Linked DNA regions of Homo sapiens: region 1 is linked to region 2. Evidence: promoter capture Hi-C in human tissues and cell types (Jung and others, 2019). All regions are on one chromosome and are shown on one strand. The core of a region is centred on a gene start or on the middle of the fragment in contact, and the rest is flanking DNA. Distances in the headings are between cores, read along the strand shown. Region 1 overlaps ASXL2 (ASXL transcriptional regulator 2). Region 2 holds the start of DNMT3A (DNA methyltransferase 3 alpha).

Evidence for each region. The method cuts DNA at HindIII sites, captures the fragments that hold promoters and counts their contacts. A contact is called where the count stands out against the background at its distance.
Region 1: a fragment that was not itself captured here is called in contact with the fragment with the promoter of DNMT3A in region 2 in 1 of the 25 tissues and cell types used here (spleen).

Annotation. Positions count from the first base shown.
Region 1 is chr2:25,807,623-25,813,788 of GRCh38, forward strand. The region is part of intron 3 of ASXL2 (ASXL transcriptional regulator 2); the gene reads right to left. It also overlaps the pseudogene TPM3P7. Among named protein-coding and RNA genes, the nearest start is that of ASXL2, 68 kb to the right of the region's middle. The HindIII fragment of the contact is 4,439 bases long and covers 193-4,631 here.
Region 2 is chr2:25,338,804-25,345,038 of GRCh38, forward strand. It overlaps DNMT3A (DNA methyltransferase 3 alpha), which reads right to left and starts at 3,122. Exons shown (of 23, transcript NM_022552.5): 1 at 3,023-3,122. RefSeq lists silencers at 1,845-1,964, 2,245-2,484, 2,585-2,754, 3,045-3,254, 3,315-3,794 and an enhancer at 3,915-4,034. The HindIII fragment of the contact is 18,341 bases long and covers 1-6,235 here.

The DNA.
Region 1 (6,166 bases), core at 1,162-3,661, 470 kb after region 2:
GGGAGACTTGCTTAAAAAGATATTAACATGTACTCTTAGCCACTATTATTGAAGTAGTATGTTTCCGAGAGAAAAAAAATCACCAAATGAATACCCTCATAGACTGTTGGTGGAAGAAAACAGAAAATGCAGAAACAGATAATAATTTAAAAGGTATCATTTATGTTTAGTATGAAAAACATGAGGTCATGCCATAGTCCCCTGTAGTTTGACTACCTGGCTTCTGTTCCCTCTTCTTTGGAGACAGTACCCAAAAATTTCCTGTGAAACAACTTTTCTCACTTTCAGTCATGTGGTTGAGAGGGACTGAATCCCATGCCCAGCCCGGGGGTAAATCCTAATTGGTTTAAATTAATCAGCTTTTACACACACACACACACACACACACACACACACACACTCTCCACCCCAAAGAACAGATACATGACTTAGGGCCAAAAATCTATGGAGCTATTTACTTGGGTATATGGGGGGGAAAAAAAACAACCAAAACTTGTTCTCCACGGAATCTTCAGAAAGGGATCCTTTCTCTTCCCTTGTGTGGTATTAGGAAGCAAGGCCTAAAACATTCACAGTCATTGTGTGACCACAAAGGAAAAATCTGGAATTAGAATGGCACAACATACAAGACAGACTGAGGAGTGACACAGTATGAATCGTAAGGAGAAATCCAACACCAAAAAGGGCAGAACTGAGAAAAGTCAGGAAGCAAATTTGTTTTTGTTTTTGAGACAGAGTCTCACTCTATCCCCCAGGCTGGAGTGCAATGGTGCAATCTTGGCTCACTGCAACCTTCATCTCCTGGGTTCAAGAGATTCTCATGCTCAGCCTCCCATGTAGCTGGGATTGCAGATGCCTGCCACCACACCCTGGTAATTTTTGTATTTTCAGTAGAGATGGAGTTTCACCATGTTGGCCAGGCTGGTCTCGAACTCCTGACCTCAGGTGATCTGCCCACCTCAGCCTCCCAGAGTGCTCGGATTACAGGTGTTAGCCACTGCGCCTGGCCAAAATTTTTAAAGTAGTATTACTTTTGCCTGTATCAAGCCTTTTTTGTTTTGTTTTTTGGAGAGACCTGTTCTTTATTTCAAAAAGACACTTGTGTCAATATTTGGTATCAAAAGAGTTGCACTATTGATTTGTCTTTCTCCCAGTTGGCCCCAAAGAGACCACATCAAAGGAGTGTACATTTTAAGCCAATAAGCTGCAGGATGTACACCTAACAGACCTCATTGAAACCTTACCAGAAAATGGGGATTGGGTAGGGAAAGAAACTTTAAAAGATCAGCAAACTGCCAGCCCACACACTGTATAGGCTGTCACAGCCAGACAGGGTGGCCAGGGTGCCACAAACCCAAAGAAGCAAAGCTTCAAAATAATAAAAAACTTTAAAAGTTTTGTACATAAGCTATTCAAGATTTCTCTGATACAAAGTACAATGAGATAGCACTTTTAGAGAGAGCAGCTTCAAACCCAGAAAAGGATAATGAGATGAGTTTCACATGGCTAAATCAGTGGCAAAACATAATCTTTCAAGGAGGGAGGATAGCAATTAAGTGGTCACTGCAACATAAGGGGCACATGATCCATTCTGCAGGCAGTTGAGAGGGGGCAGAGTTGGGACAAAAATTTAGTTTCAGAGGTCTTACCATTTTAATTTGGTCACTTCTAATGAAAAAAAAAAAAGAAATAACATTGTCCAAAGATATCTTAAAGCTGAAAACCTGAAAAGCACATTTTTGTTTTGTTTTTGTTGTTGTTTGGCTAACTCCTCCTGGAATCACCTTTCTGGTTTGGGGGGTACTTTTTACAGAGCAGTGAAATTTCCCATAATGGATTCTTTCCCTGGGCTCTGTTTGGCTCTCAGTAAGGCAGGCCTATACCTTTTCCTCTTCTCTATGGAAAGGGCAATATGCATTAAGCTGAAAAGTCACCTTCCAAAAGTGAAAAAGGAATAGATTGCTGCTTCAGAGCTGTGGAATTATTTGGAATGTTTTACAAATGGTTGCTATAAAACAACAAAAAAGGTATTACAAAATGTGTACATCACAACATGCTTTTAAAGGCATTATGCATTGTGTTCACATTCCCTTAAGTGTTGTTCCCAAAGGTGCACAGCCTCTAGCCCAGCTGGAATCTCTGGGAAGAGGCAGAGACAGTTTAGCGAAAAAGACACAGGGGAGGTGGGGGCAGCGAAAGGAGAAAGCAGCCTTCCAGTTATAAAGGTCAGCTTTGGGTAGGCTGGCCTCAGATGGAATCAGGGTCAGAGGGAGGAGCAGCAGCAGGGTGAGACTGAGGTGCTCTACATCTCATTCAGGTCAAGCAGAGTCTGGTCCAGCATCCTTTGTACAGAGTGCCCCTCTTTGGTACATTTTCAGTTTATCTTCCAAGTCATCAGTTGTCTTTTCCAGCTTGGCTACCGATCTCTCAGCAAACTCAGCACAGGTCTCTACCTCCTTGAGTTTATCAGTAAGAATCTTGATCTCTTCCACGTTTGTCTTCTTTTTGAGAGTACTTTTCTTCAGCATCACTCAGACACTTCAGGTTATGGTCCATCAGTCTCATCTGCTCATCCATCTCTCGGCAATGGGACACTGCCAGCTCAGCTCGTTCCTCTGTGAGTTCCAAGTCTCTTTCAATGACCACCAACTTACGAGCCACCTCTTCATACTTCCTATCTGCCTATTCTGCAGTGTGTTTAGCTTCTTTGAGTTGGATTTCCTGGAATTCCATCTTTTAAGGTCCAGTTTTTAACAACCTTCATATCTCTCTCACTCTGATCAGTAGCTTTTTCCGCTTCTTCCGGCTTTTGCAGGGCAGTGGCCACGTGCTCCTGAGCACAGTCCAGCTCCTCTTCAACCAGCTGGATCCTATGGTTCAAGGAGGCCACCTCAGCCTCAGCCTGTTCCCAGGCGCGCCTTTCTCCTTCAGCTTCTCGCTGGAGGTGCTCAGCTCTCTCCTCTGCATCATCTGCCTGCTGCTGCAGAACCTGGATATTGTGCTTCACTGCCTCAATAGTGGTGATCCCAGCCATGGTGCCCACCCAGCTACTGCTCACACTCCAGATCCTGCCTCCTCTGCTCAGCGTTGCAGCTGCTTCTCACCAGTGTATCAAGTCTTGCCTTGAGCCAGTACTACCTTTGGAATTTTGTTGAGATTTAAGTCACAAGAAGCTGAAAAAGTCCTAAATAAAACAGTTTAGTAGTGCTAGAATATCTCATACATCTGGGGGGAATGTGCACACAGTATATACAAAAACATATTCCAAATGAATTAAAAGCCAAAGGCAAAATATAAAAGATTAAAAGAAAACAGTATAATCTTCTGGGCACTGTGGCTCATGCCTGTAATCCAAGCACTTTGGGAGGCTGAGGCGGGTGGATCTCTTGAGTCTAGTCTGAGCAACCCCTGTCTCTACAAAAAATACAAAAATACACACACACACACACACACACACACACACACACACACACACACAAAATCAGCCATGCATTGTGGCACACGCCTGTAGTACCAGCTACTTTGGAGGCTGAGGCGGGAAGATCACCTGAGCCCAGGAAGTTGAGGCTGCAGTGAGCCATGATCACACCACTGCACTCTAGCCTGGGCAACAGAGTGAGACCATGGCTTAAAAAATAAATAAATAAATAAATAAATAACAAAAGAAAACAGTATAACCTAGAAGACAGAGAAAGCTTTCCACAAAAGAGAAAAACCCAAAAACCACCAAAGAAACATATTGACTGTATAAAATAAAAATTTCTACACAGGAAAAAAATAAAAGCAACAAAACTACAGAAAATATATGAAGCTAGAATAATTAACTGCAAAACATACGGCAGACAAAAGATTAATAGTCCTAAGAAGATATTCTTTAGGAAAACAAATAGCTCATTAGAAAAAAATGGAAAAAAGGACGTGAACAAATGATTCATAAACCATAAATGTAAATTACCAATAAAATGTATAATAAGAAGCTCAAACTTAATAGTGGTTATAAAAAGGCAAATTAAATCAAGATGCCATTGGTCAGATGGAAAGAAAGAAAATGACCCAAGCCATAGTTAACAGTTTTATGCCAATGTCAATTTCCTGGTTTGATATAATATGTATTTATATTTATATTTGTATTTATTTATATTTTTTTGAGATGGAGTCTCACTCTGTCAGCAAGGCTGGAGTACAGTGGTGCGATCTTGGCTTACTGTAACCTCTGCCTCTCGGGTTCAAGCGATTCTCCTGCCTCAGCCTCCTGAGTAGCTGGGATTAGAGGCACACACCACCACACCCAGCTAATTTTTGTATTTTTAGTAGATGGGGTTTCACCATGTTGGCTAGGCTGGTCTTGAACTCCTCCTGACCTCAAGTGATCCACACGCATCAGCCTCCCAAAGTGCTGGGATTACAGGTGTCAGCCACTGTGCCTGGTCTGATATTGTACTATATTTACATAAGATATTACCATTAAAGGAAACTGGATGAACTGTACATGGGACCCTAGGTACTATTTTTGCAATTTCCTGTGAGTCTATAATTATTTCAAAAAAAAAAAAAGGCTGGCCGCAGTGGCTCGCGTCTATAATCCCAGCACTTTGGGAGCCGAGGCAGGTGGATTACCTGAAGGTCAGGAATTAAAGACCAGCCTGGCCAACATGGTGAAACCCCATTTCTACTAAAAATATAAAAAATTAGCTGGGTATGGTGGCGGGCGCCTGTAATCCCAGCTACTCGGAAGGCTGAGGCAGGAGAATCTCTTGAAACTGGGAGGTGGAAGTTGCAGTGAGCCGAGACCGCGCCATTGCACTCCAGCCTGGGCAACAACAGTGAAAATTAATCTCCAAATAACAACAACAATAACAAAAAATGGATTGATAAAATCCATTGCTGACAAGGTTATGGGCAAATAGGCACTCTTACAGACTGTTGAGAGGACAGAAAACTGCTGCCTTTTCCCACATTACTCAATTCTGCCTTAGGAAAGTAATATGGAAATATCCATTAAAACTAAATATATTTGGGACCACTGATGCAACAATCCCACTTGAATCTGTCCTACAAAACCAAGGCCAAAGGACTTAAGGACAAATGTGCAAGGATTTACTCCATCATTGAAAGCATCAAAGCACTGAAAAATGACCTCAAACTCCATTAAGAAGAGAATGTTGACTATGATAATAAAGTAACCAACAGGATAGAAATCAACAACAGCCATGTTGGCAGCTAAAAGAGTGCTAAGTTCCAGGAAGCATTTTGTTTAGTCCTCACAACAATCTATGAGGTGAGCAAAATTATTACACCGTTTTTACAAATGAAGAAACTATAAGTTTTCAATAAGCTGTTCAAGATCATATTATCAATAAATGGTGAAGTCAAGATTCCAGTAACAAGAAGGAAAAGAGAAACAGAACTAGAAAGAGATTACTTTAAAAAGGACATAAAACCAAGAAAAAAAACATTTTCAATAAGCTACCTGGTAAATTTACCCCAATTAATGGTATTCAGTTCCAATATTAAGTACCCACTCTGTTTAGGGCAGTAAACTAGGATTAGTGGATCCACAGAGGGAAGCTTTCTTAGCTTAGAATCTAATAGAGAAGATAGGCAAGGGAGTAAACAGCCACACCACACTGTGACCAGTGCTATTAATATAAACACAGGTCCACAGTCCCTGATCTAAAACACTTAGGCCAAATGTTTCAGACATAAGAATTTTTTGGATTTTAAAAAGGTAACATGATATGCCATAAATGATATGACACTGCCATGGAGATTAGGGACAGCATCCCATAACCAAACACAATGAAACATATGAATACTCACACTAAGATGGATAAATAAAGATTATATACAGTCTCATGTCAGTTCAAGAGAACTGTTGTTGTCAAGTGAGTTTGGTGCTAAATGTATGAGGAAACTTAGTTTTTCAACCACTGCGGATACTGTAATTATGGGTAAGAGACTGTAAAGTGTGTACATAAAGTGCTTTAAGTCAGAGAGAAAAAAAATCAGTCTAGTCTGGCTTAGCACTTAGAAGAGTAACAACAACAAATAACAACAAAACAGTCATTAAAGTGAAACCTATAAAATGAAAGTAAATGGCACACACATCTGGTGAAAAGATGTGGTAAGAATAACTACAAACTGTCGGCCGGGCGCAGTGGCTCAC
Region 2 (6,235 bases), core at 1,872-4,371:
GTCCTGTCTTCCTAGCTTTTTGAGAACCACTGGCAGAGGTGGGTGTGAAAGCGATAGTAAAACATCCATAAGGGACTGAGGAGCTTACTGTGAATTGGACTTGAAAAGGAAACCTCAGAAATTATCCACACACAGGGATTTATACACAAACCTACAGGATACACACGTGCCGAGGCTTAAAGGAGGCTGTACTTTTTACACCCTCTGCAGAGTCGGACGTGACCAACCCGTCTCTTGCAGGGACCCTCCTCACACTGCCTCTCCTTCCCAAGGCCCAACTCGCTGGGCGCCCTGATCTCTCTCATATCTCCTTCTCCTTGGAAGCCTTCCCCTATTACTGCCATGTGCCGAAAAACAGACCACCCTGTCCCCATTGCTAGGCCTGAAATTCCACCACTAGAATCAGAGCCATAGAATGTCAAAGCTGGAATGGACCTTCCGGCTCTAGTCCAACCCCCACCCCACAGAGGAATCCTGTCCGCAGACACCCTGACAGATGGCTGCTGGCGTCCTTTCCTAGGCTTCTCCAGGAAGGACTCAGAGGGCAGCCCTGTGGACCAGTCCACTCCTTGAGTCTAGAAGGAATTCACCTTTCTTAGGGTCAGTCTCCTATGGAAGGCACTGGTGCCTGGGTGGGGTAACGAGGGAAGTTTGGTCGGCCTGAATCCGCAGCTGCTTATCTGGGGAGGAGCTGCACAGAGGAGGGGGACCCACCAGGGAGGCAGGCAGGTGCCAGAGCTGCTGCACAGGCCAGCCTGGTCCCTCGCCTGGAGCCAGCACATGTGCACACACAGACTCCCACCTTGACAGAGCCACCTGTCACAGCCCAAGCAGGGCCTCGGTAGAACCTGGAGGCAGAGGGGGACCATTTTGCCCCAGAAACCCAGCAGGAACTCCCTACAACCCAACTCTCCAAAGGCAGGCAGCTCAGAAAACTACCTGGAGATGGCCCCTGCTAGCCAACCAAAGAGGGTCCCCGGGATGCCTGGCCCCCCAAATCCCACAGGCCAGTCCTAACACCCAGGCAATAGCAAGGCGAATAGCTCCCCTGGCTGCAGCTGTCACATCTGCCCGCGAGGGAGGAGGCGACACTGGAGCAGCACCTGATCCCAGGATCCCTTCGTAGCCGCCCGCCCAGGAGGCGGGTTCAGCCGCTGGCAGCCTAGGGTGAAACATGAAGACTGAGCAGGCCCTCAGGGATGCTGATGGCAGTCTCTGGGCACGGCAGTGAGGGGCAAGTTGGGTCACAGGGCGGACAGCGCTTCTCCCCAAGGCTTCTGTCCCCGCTGGTTTGGAGGGGGGGTAGCTGCGCGGCCCTGGGGCTCGGCCCTGCCCACCCTCCCGCCTGCCGCAGGCCAGAGCTGCCCTGCTGGGTGCCAGACGCCATGTTGGGTCAAGGTGCAGCCGCAGGGGGCTCCCCTCAGGAGCCGGGGGAGGCAGCCCCTGGGAACCAGAGGGCACTGCTCCCCGCCCAGGGCGCCAACACCTCCTCAACTGGCCGTGCAGCGGAGAGAGGGTGCCAGGACGGAGGGGATGAGGAGAGGGGGAGAAATGGCAGAGGGGCGCTGGGGTGGGAGAGGGTGCCCCCAAGAAGGGAGGCTTCAGGAAAGCGAAAAGCAGTTTGGCAGCCCCAGGGCCGCGGGCCCCAGCGATGAGGGGCTGGGGGAGGCCAGGGGCGGGCCCTGGACCCGCGCCAGCCCGGTCCGCGCCGAAGGGGAGGGAAGGCAGGGCGGCCTGGGGGAGGGGAACTGGGGTGAGGGCGGGACACGGACAGCCGCCGCCTGCGGCTCCGAAGCTCGAGGTCTCCCGGGGTGCGGGGACGTGGGGCCGAAGACCCCGCTCCGCAGCCGCGGCGAGGCCTCGTCCTTCACTGTGCAGATGCGAAGCTTTCAAGGACACGTCTGCACCGGCCCGGCGGGGTGCGTGTGCGTGAGTGTGTCCGCGTGCGTGGGAGTGTGCGCGGGGGTGCTGGAGGGGCGACCCCGGGCGTACCCCCCCTGCGCCGCTCCCGGTCCCGGCCCCGCTACTTCCACCCCCGCGTTTTCCGGCCCCCGCGGCCCGGGCCCGGGCCCGGGATCCTCGCCCGCCCCCGCCCCGCCCCCACATTGCGGCGCCGCCACCGCGGCCGCCCGGGCACCCACGGCCCGCGGTGGGGACAGGGAGGAGCCGGGCACGACCACCCCTCTCCGTGCCGCCGGCACTCCGGGGGAAGGTGTGCCCCCAAGGCGGGCGCTCTCCCCGGCCCCGCCGCCCCTCCCGGCCCCGCCGGCGCCCCGCACCCCCAGCCACAGGTGGCCGGAGGAGGATCGCGGCGCGGCGCTCCCCGGCCCGGCCCCGCCATCACCCCTCGGCCCGCCCCCGGGGGCCTCCCGGGTCCCCCGCCCCGCGGGGCCGAGGAGGGCCGGGCGCCGGGGGGAGGGGCGGGGGGCCGGGTCGTGCCAGGCTGCCATTTTCTGCCGCCGCCGCGGAGCCTGCGCGGGGCCCGGCCCCCGCCCCCTCCCCCGCTCCCCCGGGCCGCCGCGGGGGCCGATCCTTCTGGGTCGGGGTCCGCGCCCTCCGGCGCCCTGGCCGCGGGCTCCAGGCGGGGCCGCGGGGCTGGGGCAGAGCCCGGAAGGCGGGGGCGGCCCGGCCGGGGCCCCTGCGGCAGCGGCGAGCCGGGCACCGCGGCGCAGGCCGGCGGTGGAGGGGCCCCCCGCGGCATTGTATAGACTTGAACTTGAGCCCGGAGCCGGGCGGGGGCGGGGAGGGGGGTCCGCGCCGGGAGCGGGCGGGACGGGAGGGGGCGCCTGCCGAGCCCGCGGGGACATAAACAAACCCTCAAATCCCCCGCGCCGCCCCGGCCAGCCCGGCCCGCCGTCCCCGCCTGCAGTCCCGGCCCCACGGGCGCCCGGCGCCGAGTTGCAGGGGTCCGGGAGCGTGCCCCGAGCCGGGCACTGCCAGCCGCGGCGCCCCCCGCCCGGCTCCCCGGCTCCCCGCCGCCTCCGGGCCGGCCTTCCGGGCCGCCAGCAGCGGCGCTCATTACCGTATGGCCGGTGGGGTCGGGCCGGCCCGGCTGCGCGCCCTGGTGCCGCGGCGCCGCGTCCCGGCTCGTCCTCTGCTCTCGCCGCCGCCGCCGCCCGCGCGCCCTCCCTCCCTCCCGGCCCGCCTGCCTGCCTCGCTCGCTCGCTCCCTCCCTCCGCTCGCTGTCGCGCTCCCTCTCTCCGCCTCCTCCGCCGGGTCCCCCCCTCCCACCCCTTCTCTCCGCCTTCCTCCTTCCCTCCCTCCGGCCGCCCGCGGGCCCAGGCCTCCGCCCGCCGCTCGCCCCCCGCGGCCGCGCTGGCCCCGGCCCCGGCGCTGCGGAGCCGGCCCGGGAGGCAGCGCCGACTGGGGGGCCCCGGGGCGCCGCGGCGGGAGCGGCCTGGGCGCGCGGCCGGTCCTAGCGCCCTCGGCGCGACTTCCCGGCCTCTGCGGCCCCGCCGGGGTCCCCGCACGCCGCTTGGCGGAGGTCTGGACCCCGCACCGCCCAGACCGGGGGCCGGGCCCCGGGCGCCCCGCCTCGGCCGCGCTCCCGGCCACTCAGAGCCCCTCGAGTCGTAGCCGAGCTCCGGGCCTCGCCGCAGCCCTCCCCACGCTGGGCGCCCCGCTACCTGGCGCTGCTTCTGCGCTGGGTCCCCGCATCCAGCACTGGCCGCAGGGACAGCGGCCCCTCCTCTCCCCGGGCCGGTGTCAAGTGCCTCCCCCCGCAGCCCGCGGAGCCCCCGGCGGCCTTCGCCCTGCAGTTCTCCCGACCTCCGCCAGAGCCCACTGCGCTCTGCCTGCCTCAGCACTGGGGCTGGGGACAGCAGCGCTGGCCCAACCGCGCCGCAACCCCCAGCCAGGTGCCGCCGCGGAGTAGAGGCCACTCTGCTCTACAGGGCCAAGGTCGGAGCGCCAGGCTCCTCCTGGCCGTCCCGCAGGCTCCAAAGCCTCTCTGAGATGAGCTGCCTTGAAGGGAGTGAGTTCCCCGTACCTTGAGGTGTCCAAGTAGAGTTGGGTGTCCTCAGTTGGGCACTGGAAGACTGAAAGATTTCATGAGGTGGGAGGTTGAATGAAATGACATTGAAGGTCTCTTCCAGCTGGAAGATTCTGTGTGTGCCTACACACCGCCCTCACCCCTTCACCGTGGGGGCTGTTCTCCTTCCCCATGGAGCGCTCAGGGCTCTAGGTTCCTGACTTGGGGCACCTCTGTCTAATTCCACCAGCACAGCCACTCACTATGTGCTCATCTCACTCCTCCAGCAGCCGCTGTAGGACTTGGGGCTGGGCACCCCCCCACCCCCGCCTCCAGCCTCCTTGCGCGCCCCAGCACCCCACCAGCCACCCGCAGCTCTGCACCCCGAATTCTACTCAGCACTTCAGCTATATCACAGTGCCCTGAGCTCCCTGACTGGCACAGGACATGGCGTGCTCCCTTCCCAGGGACCCGCCATCCTACTTGTGGGCAGGGATTGCTGGAGTTGGTGGTGGGACTCACTTCACAGTGAAGCGGATCCTACTTTTCCCTTCTCCCCATGCAGCCCAGCACCCGCCCCCCCAACGCCACCCTTTTAGCGTCACAGAACCGAGTTGCCAAGTTCTCTGGGACCGGGAGCTGACCTTTCATACAGACGGGAAGGTTTTCCTTCGGGAGGTTCTCCAATGCTTCCAGGTCCCTCCGTCTCCCCAACCCCCACCCTGAGCCTCGATATCTGAGACCAGCTTCTAGGCCATAGTTCTGGCCGTTTTCAGTGTCACCCTCACTCAAGTGGCCACCCCGCCCTACTGATGATAGGCCCTGCTGTCCATGGTCCCCACCGGCCCAGAGACTCCCAGTGCTCTGTGAGGACAGGGGCCGCGTCTGTCATCCCTGTAGCCCAGCACTTGGTGCTAGGAGATTCTCAGTAAACCTTGGTGGAATTAACATGTGACCCTCCTGGGCTGTTCGCTTTCTACATCAGGAGGGGCATCCGTGAACACTCTAAATGGCGCACCCAGCTTGGCAAAGGAGAAGACCGTTTATAGAAGGATGACTGAGATACCTCTGCCTTCATCAAGGGCTTACATATAACACGGCCCCAAACAGCAGCGACTGTTTACTGAGTGTCTACTATGTGCCAGGCACCAGACATGGTATTTTCTCTAGTCTTCACTAGCCCTGTGATATGGCTTGTACTCTCCTCACGCTACAGATGAAGAAACTGAGGCTCAGTCTTAGTCAAAGCCATACAGTTGGGAAGTGGCAGAGTCAGGATTCAAAGCCAGGTTCATCCGGCTCTGAAATCACCCCACATCACATCTTTTTTTTTTTTCTTTTATTGAGACACAGTCTCGCTCTGTTGCCCAGACTGGAGTGCAGTGGAGTGATCATGGCTCACTGTAGCCTCGACATTCTGGGCTCAACCAATCCTCCTGCCTCAGCCTTCTGAGTATCTGGGACTATAGATGCACACCACCATGCCTGGCTAATTTATTATTATTATTTGTAGAGATAGGGGCCTCTCTATGTTGATCAGGCTGGTCTTGAACTCCTGGGCTCAGGTGATGCTCCTATCTCAGGCTCCCAAGGTGTTGGGATGACAGGCATGAGCCATCGTGCCCAGCCCACACCACACTTTTGAAACATAGTTGCTCTTAAGAAGCTGAAATTCAGTGGGTGCAGTGGCTCACGCCTGTAACCCCAGCACTTTGGGAGGCCGAGGCGGGAGGATCACTTGAGGTCAGGAGTTCAAGACCAGCCTGGCTAACATGGTGAAACCCCGTCTCTACTTAAAATACAAAATTAGCTGGGTGTCATGGCGCATGCTTGTAAACCCAGTTACTCGGGAGGCTGAGGCAGGAGAATCGCTTGAACCTGGGTGGCGGAAGTTGCAGTGAGCTGATATCGTGCTACTGCACTCCAGCCTGGGTAACACAGCAAGACTTTGTCTCAAAAAAAAAAAAAAAAAAAAAAAGCTGAAATTCTCAGGGCCATGATGAGCAAATGTAAATTTCTATTCAATAGGGCTATTTATGATGACATTATTAGGAGCCACCAAAGTCACTTAGTATGGTAAAGTATGTAACCTTGGATGTATGGGTTGCTGGGGTCAAGAGGTCCAAGGTGACTGTGTTAGGGGGTTTATGTCTGTTAAGAAACAACCGTTTGGCTACAGGGTTGGTTCCAGACCCTGACCTTAATGTCTTTGGTCCCAAGAGGAGGCATATCTGTGCTAGCTAACCCTCATCACTGCACCTCATA